Regions from separate parts of the Homo sapiens genome. Here regions 1 and 2 are each linked to region 3. Evidence: promoter capture Hi-C in human tissues and cell types (Jung and others, 2019). All regions are on one chromosome and are shown on one strand. Each heading gives the region's core, a stretch centred on a gene start or on the middle of the fragment in contact. The rest is flanking DNA. Distances are from core to core; before and after follow the strand shown.

What was found. Contacts are between HindIII fragments. The study calls those that stand out against the background at their distance.
Region 1: a fragment that was not itself captured here is called in contact with the fragment with the promoter of GRIK2 in region 3 in 2 of the 25 tissues and cell types used here (H1 embryonic stem cells and mesendoderm cells).
Region 2: a fragment that was not itself captured here is called in contact with the fragment with the promoter of GRIK2 in region 3 in 2 of the 25 tissues and cell types used here (H1 embryonic stem cells and IMR-90 fibroblasts).

What each region holds. Positions count from the first base shown.
Region 1 is chr6:101,612,211-101,616,039 of GRCh38, reverse strand. All of the region lies in intron 2 of GRIK2 (glutamate ionotropic receptor kainate type subunit 2), which reads right to left. Among named protein-coding and RNA genes, the nearest start is that of GRIK2, 220 kb to the right of the region's middle. RefSeq lists an enhancer at 596-1,459. The HindIII fragment of the contact is 3,887 bases long and covers 87-3,829 here.
Region 2 is chr6:101,591,814-101,595,594 of GRCh38, reverse strand. The region is part of intron 2 of GRIK2 (glutamate ionotropic receptor kainate type subunit 2); the gene reads right to left. Among named protein-coding and RNA genes, the nearest start is that of GRIK2, 200 kb to the right of the region's middle. The HindIII fragment of the contact is 5,016 bases long and covers 1-3,781 here.
Region 3 is chr6:101,391,655-101,395,931 of GRCh38, reverse strand. GRIK2 (glutamate ionotropic receptor kainate type subunit 2) reads right to left here and starts at 2,224. Exons shown (of 17, transcript NM_021956.5): 1 at 2,095-2,224. The HindIII fragment of the contact is 9,322 bases long and covers 1-2,568 here.

The sequences.
Region 1 (3,829 bases), core at 781-3,280, 220 kb before region 3:
CCTAGGGGAGGAGGACACCTTATTCACTCCAGCAAGAAGCAATTATCTGTAATCTGCAGATGTGAAGATGGGCAGGAAATCAGGGGCATATATACTTCATGTATTTTCTTTGTAAAGTGAAATATAAGGCTCTCTATATTTGATTCTCTGAGGAAGATCTCAGCTGGTTTTTATAATTTTAAAAGAACATCTTTGATTTTTAAATTGCTATTATAAAATTGAATGGCAAAGCATTTTTTCCACCTGTTCATGAGCCTGCAAAAGGATAATTGTTCACATGATTTTAAACAAGATGTTTTTCTTTCCTATGACTTGAAAAAATAATATCCATTTTGTACTGGGAATCTTCTATAAAACTGTTTTCTCCTAGAATTATTCTTTTTATTATAATGTCAGGATTGTACATAGTATTTCATAAGCATGTGATCCATGAAGAGATAATTGCTCTCCTGAGAGTTCATAAATCATGTTTGATGGATAAAATATATCTCAGAATAATAAAGGACTCATAAGACCTATATGATCTTAAAGAAGCATCTTAGTAATCAATAATTTTGTGCTCTTTCTAGACTTACACCAAAATTCAACCAGTTTCACATTTTCAAGAATCTGGAGACTCCTGTGTAGTTATCATCTAATTCCTTATTCTCCATACAACACAAGCAAAATGTACTGCTTTCTCATACTTACCTTGAACTTTTTAGGTTCAAAACATCATCTAAGAAAATCATTCTCACAGCTTTATCATTGTTTTATTTCTTAATTCAGGAAGGGCCATCATATCTCACATAACCTCTATATCAAACCATAAAATGCCCGCAATTCTTTTTCCAAGCTTATATTAAAAGTTAACAGTTCTCTTCACTACAAAAGGCTTGTTAAAAGAAGAAAAAAAGAAGGAGAGGAGAATACCTTTCTTTTTCATGGGCACAATTGCCCTCCTTTGTTTTGTAGATATAGGAAACCAAATGTCAAGTGATCCCTGGTTTACACAGAACACTCAGTGCTGAAACTTTTCACATCACAGTCTCTGACTCACAAAAGAACTTCACTACTTAAGACTTGAAATAAAAGATTAGTCAACTGCTAAAGCCTAGTCAATGCCTTTCTCTTTTAAATCAATTGTAACTACTACTGAGGACTGTATGACTCATAAACCCATGATGGATGTACCAACCAACGTCACATCTAACCTCTGAGACTTTTCAAATAGGTCTTACCTTAAAGTGAGTACAATCTGTGTTTTGTAGACTTTAATTTAATAAAGAAACTGATGTTCTAAATGGCACACCATCTGTTATCCTCCCAGAAGATATGTTGATTTTCTCCATCAAATGTTATACCAATCTTATTTCCTGTCTAAACAATTGCAAAAGGTTCCTCTGCATTTTAATTTTGTACAAATCATTATCCAAAGGACAAAATCATCAAGCTTCTTTAATTTTTATACAATATAATGCCAAAGGACAATGTTACATTGGCCTTTGGCTATTAAATGACATGCCATGGATATTAAATGACATTAGGGTATCATTTTTTTCTCCTTAGGCAAAATAATGATATAGTGGTTATATAAGAAAATATCCTGACTCTTAGGAGATCAAGTCTTTAGGTATGAAAGAAGTATCATAAACAAAAAACTGGAAAAATATAAGCAATTGTTTAATCAAAGTGCTTATGAGTGTTTATTTATACAATTGTTTGAACTTTTCTGTATGTTTAAAAATTCAAAATAAAAGTTTGGGGGGAAAAGAAAATGGACAAGAAGAAATAAAACCCCAATACTCATTTTGTTCTTAATGCATATTTTTAACAGACTTCTCAAAATGACCATTAAATTAACCTGCAAATATTTACATGTACTATGCACTAAAATTGCACTATTATCCTGAGTGTAAAAGATGGAGTCTAAGAATCATACAATCTGTAAATCATCTGGTCTACTCATCATTCAGATACATAGATTGCCTTTATTACTACACATTGGCCTCCAGGAATGACAAACTTATCATCTGAAGCAGTCCCTCACCTCTCTGGAGAGCTCCAGCACAAAGTTCTCCCATATATTAATCCATCCCCTGTTTTCCTAAAGTTTTTAATCATATCTTTTTATTGAGATACATTTAATCCCAACTTAAACATGATTATCTTCCAGAATTTGAAAACATTTCATCTTCCTACTGCGTTTCTTTCATCTAGCCTAACACTTTGAAATTGTTTAACTGTTTGTCACATGACTAATCTGATCCTTTCGTTTTTCTAGTTTTTTTTTTTTTTCTGAACACAGCCTAGTGTGTCCACAGTTCAATGTTATACTCCAAGTGTATCCAAGCAAAGCAAATTATGAGAGAGTGGCCAGCTCCATAAGTTAATGTATTATAGATAAAATACTGGATTTTTTTAACAGTACAGTATCACACTGCTCATTCATCTTAAGCTTATTGTTTAAAAAGTTTATGTTTGTGATGTACTTTTTTAAAATTTTTTTACAAGTATCCCTGATTAATATCTTTTACTTACAGTTGGTCTAATTTTCTAATTAAAACCACTTGGGGCCTAATTCTATCATCAACTGTTATTATTAACTTATTCAACATCTAATGTATCAAGGTAATTTACTAATATTACAAAGGTATGTGAAATGTGTTTCTTTACCTTCTGCCTTTAGGTCATATTCAGTTTTGCTTTTATATCTAAGTCAGTGATAAAAATCATAAGCCAGAAAGAGTTAAAGACCAAGCAAAGCTTTAGACCATAACCTCATAGATACCCCACTGGAGTCTGTCCCTATTGTTAAACTAGGTAATGGTCTTCTTAATTATTCTAGCTAACAGTTTATAGATTCCCATCATTTCTACAGGAATGTCACTGTAAACCTTTTCATATGCTTGACTAAGTCCAGAAGTTCTATGTCTTCCACACCACAACAATGCATCTCCACTGGATTTTTCATGGATACTTGCACCTATTCTAGCTTTTTTCAGTAGTTTATAGCTACTACAATCAAAGTCATTTTTATAACGTGAAACATTGATCTTATTATTCAACTTCCTAAAATCTTTCAATGACTAATCTTTAAGCTTAATGCTATTTACAAAGTTTTTCATAATTTGTCTTCTACCTTCCTTTCCAACCTCTTTTCTTACCACTCCCACTTCCCCAGTCATACAGCCATATTAAACCACTTACCTTTACCTGATTGAACCAAAATCAAATGCCTCCATTGCTTTCCAAACAGGGCTCATCTGCCCAGGAGCCCAGCTTCTTCTTACTGACCTATGTACCTACACACACACACACACACACACACACACACACACACATTAACACATACATCTGTAAATTTATCTCTCATTGTGAGCTTTTGAAATAGTCACCTTTTCTGGGAAAACATTCCTCACTGGTCCTAACTGCACTGAACTAATTGTGTCTTTGCTTTATGTGCTCAATGTTCCAGACCCCTTTCAAACATAATGCAAACTCCTGCAATTTGAAGCTAAAGAAATTTAAATAAGTATGAAACATGTTTACACCTAAGCTCAATCTCATTGAAGAATGAAAGTTCCTAACAGTCAACATTTATTGACATCATACGCTACATCAGGCACTGTGTATTTTACAAACATTAATAAAAAGTCATCAAAAAGTTTATTTGACTCACGTTTTCTGTCTTTAATCTATTTCCCATCAAATAAAATTTATATTTTAAGTCTGAATATAATAATATTTAAGTTGTCCCAATTACTGAGTCTAAGATTTGTTTTTCTTCTTTATGTTTCAGTCCTGCAAGGTAGATTAATTCTTAGTCCAAAGAACCTGCTTCACTGAG
Region 2 (3,781 bases), core at 109-2,608, 200 kb before region 3:
TGTATATATATACACATATAAAATCCCTATTCTTACATTCAAGAAAGTCATAGGACCATGCTAATATGGCTTGTTTTGAACTACATAGAATCTGGCATCATCTGGCTGGAATGTCAGCAATCTATGGCCCTTAGGCCAAACTTGACCAGCTATCTGTTTTTATAAATAAAGATGTATTGAAACACAACCACACTCATTGCCTTATATATTGTCTAAGACTACTTTTGTGCTTTTACAAAGCAGAGTAGAACAGTTGCAACAAACCATATACCCCCAAATACTGAAAGTCTGTAACTACCTGGTCCTTCACAGACAGTTTGCTAACTGATCTGTACATCACTCCCCTCCTTCTGTCTGTCTCTCCCACCTTTCTTCTCTCCCTGTTTTCCTCCCTTTCTCCTTCCATTTCTTGCCTTCTTCCTTTTTATTCCTTTTGGTTTTCATGTTTTTGACTGATCATCACATTGTCAAAAGTGGCTATTCTAAACTTTTTAGAATTTTAAAAGTTATTGAAAAGTCTATGAATGCCTACTTGAGGTTTCTCGGTACCTTAACCTCCCTCTTTTATTCATTTGTATATTCCAAAGCTTAGCCACCAACATTTGCCCTGATATAAGATCTTCCAGACTTTGCTATCTTGCCCACATGCTTATTTGTCTAAAATTTTTCTTTATTCTCCCTTAAAGTATAAAACAACATAAGAAAAAAAAGAGAAAAAAACACAAAAAGATGTCTCACCAATTCTGATTCCCTGTAATTCACCGCCCTATCTGCCTTCATCCATGCTTTTAAACTACAAATATTTCTTTAAACATAACTCATATGTCACTGCCTCCACTTTGTTACCATCCACTTACACTATAAATGCCTTCAACCTGGCTTTGCCTTGCTACTCCACTGAATTTTACTTAGAAGCTACCAAGAGCCAACTTGTCACCAATTTTGTTTTGTTCTTCATTAAGGTCTTTTTGGTAAGGGATTTTCTTATATCTTTATTGAAACTCTATACTCATTTTGTTTCTGAGACTAAAAATTCCACTAGTATTCAAGTAAAATACAACTTTTTCTCAAACATATGCTATATATTTCCTTGCCTTAAACCCATTTTATGGTTGTGCTTTCTTTGAAAAACTATGCTTTTTGTGTGGCACAAGCACTTTCTACTCCAAGTTGTGATATAATACATCCATCAAATATAACTCCAGGAGGATATGAAAATGTCTTTTTTATTCATTATTGTGTCTTGAGCATCAGTTACATGTTAAATACTAAATAACAACGGAATAGATGTATTTACTCTCTGAAAGAAAATTCGGAGATCATCTATTCCAACCCCATTGACTTTCCTATGTTGAGAAAATAAATTACTGATAAAGCCGGCACACTCAAGCCTGTTCCAGTGCTTGGTATAACATTTTAGTGCTACCTCTATTACATTACTAAATTGGCATGGAATGTTTTCCTTTTCAAGGTATCTTAAGAAAAGTAATAACTCATTTAATTAATAAACTCACTTATTACTTGTGGATTATCAGGAATTGTGAATTTAGGTTAATGTTTTATCCCAACACCTGACATTTCATAATACATTTTTTGTTTTTTACATATGCTTTTATTTCTTACAAGATTTTTTCATGTGATGTAAGCATCCCTGGATATATGTACATTTTTCATGGGGAGGCATATTCATTTTAGAGAAATACTTATAGCGCAATCTATCTGAAAATTCTGTAAAATTTTCCAATAGCATGAGAAAAAAGAAATATCCCCCAGATGTGATATTATACCTAAAGTAACATATGAAGCTGTCATCTGTTCAAAAACTAAACTTTGCTCATTGGGAAGTAAAAAATGAAAAAGTCAACTTTAATATTACTTGGAGTCATCTTTTGGCAGCGTAATCTATAACACCTAATTTTATGAGTTTGTATTGCCTCAAATATGAGCTCCCACACATCCTACTAAAATCTGTTGACTGCCTTTCTATTTTAGGCTCTGTAAAAATAGAAATACACTCTGTAGCTTGAAGAAGTTTATAATATTGTGAGAGAGGAATAATAGCATTAAGCAGCTGGGCTTTAGTTTTCACATCTAAAAATGGAGATGAAATTCCTGTCCTGCCTAGCTCATGGTATGTTTGAAAGAGTCAGAGGAACAGTGAAAGCACTCTGTAAAATATAAATAACTACAGAAATCTTAATTATTATTATTATGATGCTCATTACACGACAGCAAATTATTAAAGATCAGAATATATGAAACAAATAGTGAAGCTTTGGGAGAAATCAACTTAGAGCAGAGAGTTAGGGAAATCTTTATGAAGGAAGTTGCTTCTATTCCCATCATCACCTCCATCACTTTATATCCAGACTGGAAATTATCTATCAGTGATCTACTGCCCCCAGTTACTTCCTATTCTAAATCTATTATGCCAACACCAAACCAAGTTCTTACTTAGATCACAATCATTGTATCAAACACCTTCAAACACCCATAGGATGCCAGAAGCAATCTAAATTCCTTATTTGGAAATATCTCAGCCTTATCTCCAACTGTTCAGTTTTTCTAACTCTCCACTCCAGCTAAACTCCTGCAGCAACAATTGCCTATATCATTAATCTGGTAATTTGTTTTTATTTGTTCCAGCAAATAATTAATGTGGCTCATTTGACAATTAATCATGTGATGTAATTCCTTACAGCATCTGTTCTGCTGTTGCATCAAGCTGTTACTTATATTTTCATTTCCTTTATACAGTTGTCATTTTCTCATCTCTCAATGAGACATCAGTGGCCATTAAAAATTAAGTGTTTTAATCTTCCACTTCTTCCCACACCCAAACCCCCCAAAGTCATGAATATAATTTTGCTTCAATTCAATCCTAGAAATTTATTGCTGAACAATTCTGCAAAGCCCAGTCCTTCCTGCTAAAGAGAGATGATAGACGTAGTGCTTGTCTGTGAAAAAGCAATATATATATATATATATATATATATATATATATATGTGATATTAGTAATTCTATCCCATGACTTCCAGAATCGCTTTCAACACTGAAGGATACATTCCTTCAGCTGATGGAAATGTTGTCAGCTGGTCTTCCCAGGAATTGCCTCAGCTGAAGTTTTTTACCAAAGCATACCTCCTTTCTAGGTAACTCACATCTAATAACTGATCAATGCCAGGATGTCAGGATATAAGGACACAGATCCATCACCCCTACTTGTGACAACTGTGAAGGGGTCATCACAGCTTCGGAGCATTCCATTTGCCCAATCCTGCTTTTTTTCCATTTCCCTATAGAAATTCCTGCACAATAATATCCACTTCATAGTCTGCTTTCCAATTATATTAGTCATTTCTTTCATTGCTATAAAGTAATACCTGAGGCATGGTAATTTATAAAGAAAAAGTTTAATTTTGGCTCATGGTTCTGCAGGCTGTACAGGAAGCATGATGCTGGCATCTGCTCCTAGTGAGGGCATTAGGAAGCTTGCAATCATGGCAGAAGGCAAAGAGGGAGTAGGAAAGAGATTGAGGGGAGACCCCAGACTTTTAAACAACATCTCAGATGAACTAATTGAGCAAGAATTCGTTCACCAGCAAGGAGATGACACTAAGCCATTCATGAGGAATCTGCCCCCATGATCCAATACCTCTCATCAGGCTCCACCTCCAACATTGGGGATTACATTTCAACATGAGATTTAGAGGGGACACACATCCAAACCATATCACCAATGAATATAATCTCTGACTAAAAATGTAAAATAAATACAAA
Region 3 (4,277 bases), core at 975-3,474:
TTTTTTCCTCATTTTAACCATATGGCACTCTTTATTTCTATGAGCCAAAGCTCTGTAGATTCCAAGGTCAAAGCAGAGATAACAAACTGCAAAAACACACATACACGCACACCCAGAGAGAAGCTGTATTTAGAAGTATACCTCAAAAAAATCATAGAAGGCTGACACAAATATCAAACCTATGATAAATTGACAAAGAAGAAAATGCATATCATGTTAATGCAAAGCTTCTTCCAACAATAACAAAAAAACCCACTAGCTTCATCTTTCACTATATTTTTATATTTGCAGATACTAATGACCTCTTATTCTTGGGCACTATTACTTGAGAAACAATTTTAGTTTCCTATTCTGCCAGTGAAAATGAATCTTATTCTAGTTAGCTGCCACCTGCTGGGGTATGAGAAAATGTGTAATAATCTTTATAGCACAACATTTAAAAAGACAATGCCTATACCTTTTGCTGGAAACAGCAAATACATACCCCAGAACAACCTGAATTTCAAAGATGTTTCAAAGGTTCTTACATGCCATAGCTATATTTAAATTTTTCACATGGAATTCTTACTAAGGATTCCACTTGACTTGTCACGGAAGTCCTGCTGTTATGTGACATTTGAAAAACCTCATCTTATAGTAACACCTAACCTATTATTCCATGCAAGTGGCCTGTTGCATAGCAATTTAGCTAAAACAAACAGCCTGTTTATACATGGCATTAAAGATCTCAGAGAATAAAGTCAGGACTGAGTCAGGTTTCAGTTGAAATCACACTGTTGCATACTTGCAACTCACTCTTCTTAACTATGCATGCTGTGGTATCCCTTATGATTCTGAACACATTATCAGCTGTTCCAGCAACATTCTGCTGCATTGATGATTAATGACATTTAGAGTTTTGATTAATTTTTAGACACTAAAATAAGTGTATCTTAATTAACAAATTGAAGTGGAATAAATTTACATATCCCAGAACTTTTTTTTTTAAATTTCAGCCTGTGTGATTTTCAATGGGTTTAAATAGGAGAAAACAAACAGATAAGACTTCCAAACATTGCTCAATTCTCTATCACCTTGCTCTTGTGCATTTCAATTTTTTGTTGTTTGTTTGACTCAAAAGTTTTTAAGGCCACTGGAAGTTGATAGGCTGCCTTGGTGGTTACAGGAATAGACTCTATAAAGTTAGAAAGTAATGAACTAAGACAAATCAAGATTGAAATACAATTGCATTTATTTCAGTAACTAAACTGACTAATTAAGACTCAAATGAACCAATCATCTCTCGTGAAATGAAAATAATCATCAATCCATAAGATAATTTCTGATGACAGAATACTTACAGTATGGAGATGAATAAACGATAGAAGATAATCTGTGCATTACCAAAAGGCTACTAATAGTAAGTTTTCTAATATTCCCCATTGCCTAAATTGGAAATTATTCTCTAAGGAGCCTCAGCTCGGTCGTGTTGTTTGGTAAAGAAACTCTATCTCCTTAAAGGTAAAAATATCAGAGGATGTGGTTCGTTAAAAGTTCTTGAGGTTTATGATCCACCCTGGTAACACTGCCCACTCCTTACCCTAATGGGACGCCCTCCAAGTTTTTTCAGAAGCTCTTAATACGGGTGCCGGTTAAAATAAATATACTTCCTCAGCGCAGAACTAAGGAGTAGGGTTAATGGAAGGATGGGTGGGCAGAAGGAGGGATGGGGAGTTCGTCAGACCCGCCGGCAGCCACACAGCTTCTTGCCATCTGTCTCATTCTCTTCGCCTCGCGTGAGTCCCCGTAGCTGAGGCCACTTCCTGACACGTCCACTTCTTAAATCATTTTATGTGGAGAACATAGGCGACTGCAGCCAACAGAGCCACTTGCATGCTTGACGGGAATTGGCTGAGATAAGCCCGACAAAGACTCGCAGTGAATCCGTCCAGCGGGCGCCCCGAGCGCACGGACGTCCGCAGCGCTACTGTTCGCCTTCTTCCTTCTCTCCAGGTGGAAAATGCCCCTCGCCCACCCGCAGTCCCTCCCGTCCTCTTGAAAACAAACACCTCGTGAAGGAGCCCGGAGTGCAGCCCACAGCCGGGGAGTCCTTACCTGGAGCTAGGGGTGAGGTGGGCGGGGAGGGGGTGGGGTGGTCCTCGGGGAGGAGCAGCCGGAGGAGGTCGGGCGGAAAAGTCCCCAGCTACCAGACCGACCAGCGCAGCCGCCGGCGCCGAGCGCGAGTGACGGCAGCGGCGAAGACGGTGACCGAGGAGCAGCAGCGGCGGCGGCGGCGGCAGAGACAGACACGCCTCCTGGCGGGGGTTCCTCGCCTCTTGCTTTAAAGGCGCCGCGCTCCTTTCCCCGTGGCCCCTGCACGCTCCTGGCCGCCGCGGCCACTCGGGGGCATCTCCCACCCCTGGACCACAGGAGCTAGAGCGAGAGAATTCCTGGTGTCCCTAGACTTGGATGTTACGAAGCCTCCGGCTGGACTTCGCTCCCTTAGCGCACACCCGCCTCCTGGGATGGGGAGACTAAGGCCAAGATGCTCTGTCAGGGAGTGAGTGATGCATGCAAAGCGCCGAGGAATTTGCCTAGCCTTGGGTGGTGACAACACATATAAGGAGCCCAAACACATTTGCTTCTGGGTGATGGCTTTTATGCCTCTCCGAAACCATAGCAACGAAACTTCTCCACTGCCAGGGCTTGGAGGGCTGCTGGTAGTCTCCAAAGTGGACCTCTTAGTCCAACTACGGTCATTTCCCTGAGGTTCGCAAAAAAAGATCTTGATCTGCGCACCCTCCCACCCCGACCTCCAGCGCATAGAGCAAATGCGCTCTGGTAGCGCTGCTGCGGGTATTCCCTCAGATGCTGGGAGTCACAGTGCCCTGCTCCCTGCCACCATTATTGAGAACAGATGCTTGGAAATTGACTTTTCCTGAGTGTTAGGAGGTCGGGCGGGCTGTCTCTGTGTATGTATGGCGCCTTAAATAGCAGACTCCCCTCTCCCCACCAAACTCCCGCCCAGGCCCCGGAACTCTCAACCTAAACACATTTCAGAAAGAAGTTGGATTCGAGATCTAGTGGGCGCCGAACCTGAGGTCGCAGACTCCAAGATTGGAGACAGGAGTCTGGGAAGCAGCCCTGGTTTGGCGGCCACTGGTCCAAGTTCTCGGGAGGACTCTTTTAAAGGCCAGAGATGGGGAGGGGCAACTGAGTCCCAGAGTCTTCCCGCAGCTTGGCTTCCAGGGAGGGGCTGGCGGCGGTGAGCGCACCAGGCTCTCCCTGCTTCACTGTGGAAACGATTAGCTTTTGCAAACAATCCCTGAGTTCCGCTCCTCTGGGTCGGAAAAGTCAACATCTATTCAAAACCGTTGCTATTTTATCCTCAGCCCTACAATATTAACTGGAGCTGAGTTTAGCAGTTTCCCCCAGAGGAAGTTGGCCAGCTCAGATTCGCGAGGAGATTTAAGTGAGGCTAAGCGGGAACAGGCCAGGCGCACTGGGCTCAAGAGACCATTTCAAACGGGCTGCATAAAGAAGGGGCCAGGGGGGATTCCACGGCTCTGCAGTCCCCTAGCAGTTCCAGTCCCTGGTGGTTCTCCACTATCTATCTAATTCCGAGGTCCGGGAATTAGAGAGGCTCTGAGTCCCCAGGGACCCGTTGTCTGAGCTGGAGACCAGAACTTGCCCTTTTGCTTCCTCCTTCACTGCAGCCCTAGTAAAGTTAAGCCCTCGCCGGACCCTGGCGCAGCAGGGCCATGTTCCACACCCTGAGGCTAGCGCCTGGCTCAGAATAGCTCTGAAACACAGAAATTCAGTCCTGCCAAAACCGCCAGTCTTTCCCTCTTGGTCACCATCCAGGACTCTCTGCGCCCCGTTCCCCACAACATGCTTACTGAGCATTCCTGGGTGGGGCAGGGTTGGGGGGAGGGGGACTGGGGACTTATGTTAAGGAGAGATGAGTTAGTGGCAATGGAGAGTCCATTAGTCATTTGAAGATCCCAGGGGTGGCTGGGCGGCTCCCTTAATTAAGTCAACAGCAGCCTTGTTCTACCCAGTAAATAAATAGTCAATGACTCTATTGTGCATCCTGGAGCGGGCAGCACAGACGCGTGACCGGTTCTGGGCGCCTGGGCTCCAGCTGCTGTGACCTGCAGCCTAATGGGCCCTCGAGGCACAGCCGAGTTTGGGCCAGGCTCCGAAAAAATGCCCCATTCTGTCCCATTCCTCCATGGGAGTAAGGAAGATAACTTGTCTACTGGCTAAAGACTCTCTCCTTGTCATGATTACATCCA